Regions from separate parts of the Homo sapiens genome. Here region 2 is linked to region 1. Evidence: promoter capture Hi-C in human tissues and cell types (Jung and others, 2019). All regions are on one chromosome and are shown on one strand. The core of a region is centred on a gene start or on the middle of the fragment in contact, and the rest is flanking DNA. Distances in the headings are between cores, read along the strand shown. Region 1 holds the start of ZNF25 (zinc finger protein 25). Region 2 has its middle 56 kb from the start of ZNF37A.

Region 1 (2,769 bases), core at 99-2,598:
ATATTGTAATTACCCCGATTTGATCATGACACATTGTATGCATATATCAAAATATCACATGTACCCCACAAATATGTACATTATGTACCAAAAAAAAAAACTAAAATAAGCAGCAAAAACCACTTCCAGCTAGCATGGTGCTTACGAAATGCCTAAGCTCAGTTATCAGCCAATGAGAGGCATTATAAGATCACCACCATAAAATGGAGGAACTGATGAACTGCAGTTTTCATCTTTAAAAAAATTTTTTGTCCCATTTCCTGTCTTTAGAAACTAGCCTCTGGGCTGGATGGGATTCCCAGCTTCTCCTGTAAAATGCAAAATTGAGGGCTCAAATTGTGGTTTCAATTTACACGTTTCACAGTCCTCTGAGAAGAGACTAAGGTTGGAGGATGCAGGAAGGCCTTAAATAATTCACCTTTTGACTCAAGTGCTCTGAAGATTCCCCAAGCATTTTTGGAAACAGAACACTACCTGGTTGAGACTGGGTTCAAGTACACCACACAGCTACGTTCTGGTGGTGCTCAAGGGGCAAATGCTGTGCTAAATACAAGTCAAGACTGGATTTTAGTGTGGCAAGGCGCATTAACTCAGAGGAAAAAGTGAGGATTTACATCCCACCTGCTAATACTGTGGGTAAACGGATTTCTCTCTCTGAATCTTTAATAGTCACATTTATTTTAATAGAGATGGTTAAGTCGAAAGGATGGTTACGATGATTAAATGAGCCAATAATGAAAACAGCATGTTTTGTAATAATAGAAGCAGCTCACCTTTATTGAGTCCTGTATCATACTTTACATCTATTACCCTATTCAGTACCCAAAGGCCCCCATCATTTGCCAGATGCGCGTCGAGCCGCACTGGGACCACCTACAGACGCTGGACCAGAGCCCACGTCCCTGCGGCTTTGGAGCGCCGCGTCTGCAGCGGCCAGCGCGCCTCACATGGCGGCTCCGGTCACGTCACACAATGCGGCTGCTCCGGGCGCCCACTGCCCAGCACCGCAGGCCTCCTCTGGCCGCCCCTCAAGCAGGTCGCGCAAACGCCATTCCGGGCAGGGGCGCCAGCGCAGCCAGCCAACCTCCCCACCAGGCGGCTCCCACCCAGGGCCCTCCGCGGAGGCCGCTCCGGGGCCAGGAGGCGGCTTCCAGGCTCGAGACCCCGCCTCCCAGGCCCTGCCCGCCCGCAAAAGCCTTCGACACACCTGCAGGGTCTCGGCCTCTGCTCCCGGCCCGCGCCGGGCCCAGGCCCCGCCCTTTGCGGCCCAGCCCAGACCCGGAGGCACCGGAGTCCTCTCCCCACCCTAGGGCGTAAGACCAAAAAAACGCCAATGCCAGAAAGAAGACACTGCACATGCGCAGAACGTTTCCCTAGCCCTACTCCAGAACTACGCTTCCCAGAAGGCCCGGCTGCGACTCCATCTTGGATGACGTCGTGAGGCGCGGCCGCCTCCAGCGGCCTGAGTGATTGCTGTCGGGTTTCCGGGAGAGGGCGCTGTCCTTGCTCAGTGATGGCCGGAGAGCTGCACCCTGCACGTCTGGGCTTGAAGACAGAAATCCACCGTGAGGTGCTCCAAGGAACACTGATGGGCAGTTTTGTTAAAGTGATTGAACTCCGTGGGTACAGGAGTACGTGGAGTAATGAAGGATAATGCCCTGTAACCGCTTCCTCTTAGGAATGCTAGCTTTCACAATTGTGCAAACGGTACGCGAAACGTAATAAACTACAAAATATGTATAAGCTAAAACAGAAAACGAGTATACCACTTCCCAAAAGCAAAAGCGCTTAATGTTAGGTGAACATCCTTCTCATGAATTTACACAAATTTTAACCTAATGGTATAGAGTATCATGACTATCATTTCACTAAGGAATATATATAGTCATCCCTCCTTATCCTGGGGGTGCATATCTATGGATTCAACTAAGCTCAGAATGAAAATACTTAAAAATTCTATCTTACTGAACATGTACAAAGTTTCCCCCTTGTCATTATACCCTAAACAATACAATAAAACTATTTACATAGTATTTACATTGTGTTAGGTGTACAATTAATCTAGACATAATTTAAAATATACAGGAGGAGGTGTGTAGGTTATGCAAATATCAGGTTATTTTCTACCAGAGACTTGAACATCCCTGGATTTGAGTAATCCAGGGAGGTCCTGGTACTAATCCCCCGCGGATACAGAGAGAGGACTTGGCTGTATATGTAAAACAAATTATATATTTCCTGGTCAATAACTTTATTACATTAAAACATGTAGAATCATCTAGAAAAAAACGTATATATTGTCATGTGTATAAACACACATATATATACATATAAAAATATGCGCACATAATACACACACACACACCACCTTTCTGGATGGGAAGTATTGAGGAAATAATTTAAAATAAAGCCTCTTGCCAACCCAGAAAATTCTCTCCACAGATGGAGAAAAGAACAAAACAGTTACATTATTGAATAAACATTAAACCAGACTGCGATGTGCGTCACAGGCAACCCACTAATGAGTTTATGAAGACAGGAAGAACTATCATTTTTTGTATTAGCCGGTCTGGTACAACGCATTCTATTTCCTCAAGGTAAAAATAACTTGTCCTCAAGTAAGATGACTGTACAGCAACATTTGCTATGCATAATTCATCTGAAATTCACCTGATAATTAGGGTAGCCATCAGTGTTAGTTAATTGCCATTATGCAAATGAAAAGTAAAGTTTCTGGTATCTCTATGACACGCAGGTAGTTAACCGCGG
Region 2 (2,769 bases), core at 158-2,657, 170 kb after region 1:
ACAGGCACTTACCACCACAACTGGCTAATTTTTGTACTTTTAGTAGAGACGGGGTTTCACCATGTTGGCCAGGCTGATCTTGAGCTCCTGACCTCAAGTGATCCACCCTTCTTCACCTCCCAAAGTGCTGGAATTACAGATGTGAGCCACCACACCAAGCCATATTTGCTTCAATATTCTAACACAAAATGATAGCTTAACCTATTATCCAATATTCCCACTTCTCAATAGGATGCAACTGCTATGCTTTCTTTGAAATAATTATTTTTGAAAATATTATTTCAAAGTGTAGTCCTCCTAGACAGTGCTAATTCTATTGGGATTTTAAAGGATTACACAAAATAGCCATCACATTTCACTTAATGTGCCCTATGTAATGCAGAACCCAGCCTGCTACAGCCACTTGGGAGGCTCTCGCCCACTGTCTCCTCCAGGCTCTCTCACATGCATCAAGGCTATGATCAAATGGGACATTCTCACTCCATCCCCTCCTAACCCCCAATTCAGATTGTAGCCCACCCCTCAGCAGTCCCTATCCGCTTTTCTTCATTTTGTTCCATAACTTTTGACACCTTCCAACATTCTACAGTTGTGCTTTTTTTTTTTTTTTTTTTTTGAGAGAGAGTCTAGCTCTGTCGCCCAGGCCAGAGAGCAGTGGCATGATCTTGGCTCACTGCAAGCTCCGCCTCCTGGGTTCACACCATTCTCCTGCCTCAGCCTCCCGAGTAAATGGGACTACAGGTGCATGCTACGACACCTGGCTAGTTTTTTTGTATTTTTAGTAGCGACGGGGTTTCACCATGTTAGCCAGGATGATCTCAATCTCCTGACCTCGTGATCCGCCCGCCTTGGTCTCCCAAAGTGCTGGGATTACAGGCGTGAGCCACCGCACATGCCCGGTTTTGCTAATTTCTTTAGTGAACTATTTGCTCTTCTGCACAAAATTGTAAGTTCCACGGGGATAGAATTTTTTTTATGGCTTTATTCTTTGCGTTATGTCCAGTGCCTAGAAAAGTACCTGGTAAGTGTTGTGAAGTATTTCCTGAATAGAGGTTGAATGTTGTGATAAGTTTCACTGTGACTCCTCATCTTGTACCTGCACTTGCAAGTTTCTTCTTGTCTGCCTGGGGCGTTGCGCTCAGCACCTTCAGCCCCCACCACTCAAGGTTCCTGTCTGCATGAGTGTAATCACCATCGAGTGTCAACAGCACCATCCCTTTCCCCACTCTCATTCAGAAGCTCCTCATCTGCTCTGGGATGGGACAAACTCACTCTTGTGTCATCATTCTGCCAAGTTTATTAAAACTCAAAATGTGAGTGTCTGCTCTTTTCTTTCTCTTTGTCCTTTTGTTAAAACTTCCCCTTTGAAAGAGGAGATGCCAAGGTTTAGACTAAATGGGAGAGAAATAGTGGGCAACTGGAGAACAAGGGAGGAAAACCACATTGGTTAATCTATCAAATCATTACATTTCTATATGATTAAGCATAAAATAAAATGTCTTTGAAGAAGTTATGCAGTCCAAGGGGTCTCTAACTAATGAGCAGGTCCTGAAGGACATGGTAAAGCCCATATCAAAGCTGAGTTAATTAGCATTTTATCCTGAAATGCATCCGTGGGGACAAGCAGTTCAGCTAAACTTTCATGAAACAAAGACAGCATTTGCGGGGTCTGTGTCTAACCTTGTCATAGGTGGGACATCCTTTGAGGGGGATCCGTGAGTCTTAGCTAAGTCAATGGGGAAGGGAAGTTCTTTGCAGTAAGGCAGGAACACAAGGTGGTGATTTCTTTAACCATCACTGTTTCCCAGTGCCTCAGGGCTCAAGTAGAACTCAACAGTGTCACTATCAGTACCTGAACATATTTAAAAGAAATAGCTTAAGACTCCAAATACTTATTTACTGTGGAACTGCCAAACAACTGTGTTCATGGATTTTGAAAATATTGTGACATGCTGCATCTTGCCATCTGGGACATGTTCCAGACTCAAATGAATCCCATGAACATAAGATTAGCCACAGACAGAATTGTGAAGAATAACAAAACACCTTTAACTACATGGGTAATTCAGAATCTAAGTGAAAAAAAGAAAACTGGAATGCATGGGGCCACTCTGTGAGTTACGAGGTGCATGATTCAGGCCATTCCTTTCAACCACAACCACAGATGCAAAAGACAGTGGAACTGAGTAACTTGCAGTCTTGTCATGAGCACAAGAATCAAGAAGATCGAGAAATAGCTGTTTCTCTATGGAATTTTCTTTCTTTTTATTTATTTATTTATTTATTTATTTATTTATTTATTTATTTATTTTGAGATGGAGTTTAGCTCTTGTCGACCAGGCTGGAGTGCAATGGTGCAATCTCTGCTCTCTGCAACCTCTGCTTCCTGGGTTCAAGTGATTCTCCTGCCTCAGCCTTCCAAGTAGCTGGGATTATAGGTGCCCGCCACCACACCCAGCTAAGTTTTTGTATTTTTAGTAGAGACGGTGCTTCACCATGTTGGCCAGGCTGGTCTCGAACTCCTGACCTCAGGCGATCCACCCACCCTGGCCTCCCAAAGTGCTGGGAATACAGGTGTAAGCCACCATGCCCAGCTCTCTATGTAATTTTCTAATCTTCAATTTTGTAATCTTTCATTTTATTCTATAGAAGACTGAAGATTATCTATAGAAATTGAAGATTTTCTGGAGAAAACTCTGTATATTCAATCTTTTGTTTTTTAGTTTTTGTTTGTTTGTTTGAGATGGAGTCTCACTCTGTTGCCCAGGC

The links. The method cuts DNA at HindIII sites, captures the fragments that hold promoters and counts their contacts. A contact is called where the count stands out against the background at its distance.
Region 2: a fragment that was not itself captured here is called in contact with the fragment with the promoter of ZNF25 in region 1 in 1 of the 25 tissues and cell types used here (stomach).

The regions. Positions count from the first base shown.
Region 1 is chr10:37,975,299-37,978,067 of GRCh38, forward strand. ZNF25 (zinc finger protein 25) reads right to left here and starts at 1,349. Exons shown (of 6, transcript NM_145011.4): 1 at 1,208-1,349. ZNF25-DT (ZNF25 divergent transcript) reads left to right here and starts at 1,457. Exons shown (of 6, transcript XR_930830.4): 1 at 1,457-1,707. RefSeq lists enhancers at 233-322, 1,363-1,592 and a silencer at 913-1,322. The HindIII fragment of the contact is 22,972 bases long and covers 1-2,769 here.
Region 2 is chr10:38,148,977-38,151,745 of GRCh38, forward strand. It overlaps a transcript of ZNF37A not described here. Among named protein-coding and RNA genes, the nearest start is that of ZNF37A, 56 kb to the left of the region's middle. The HindIII fragment of the contact is 5,746 bases long and covers 1-2,769 here.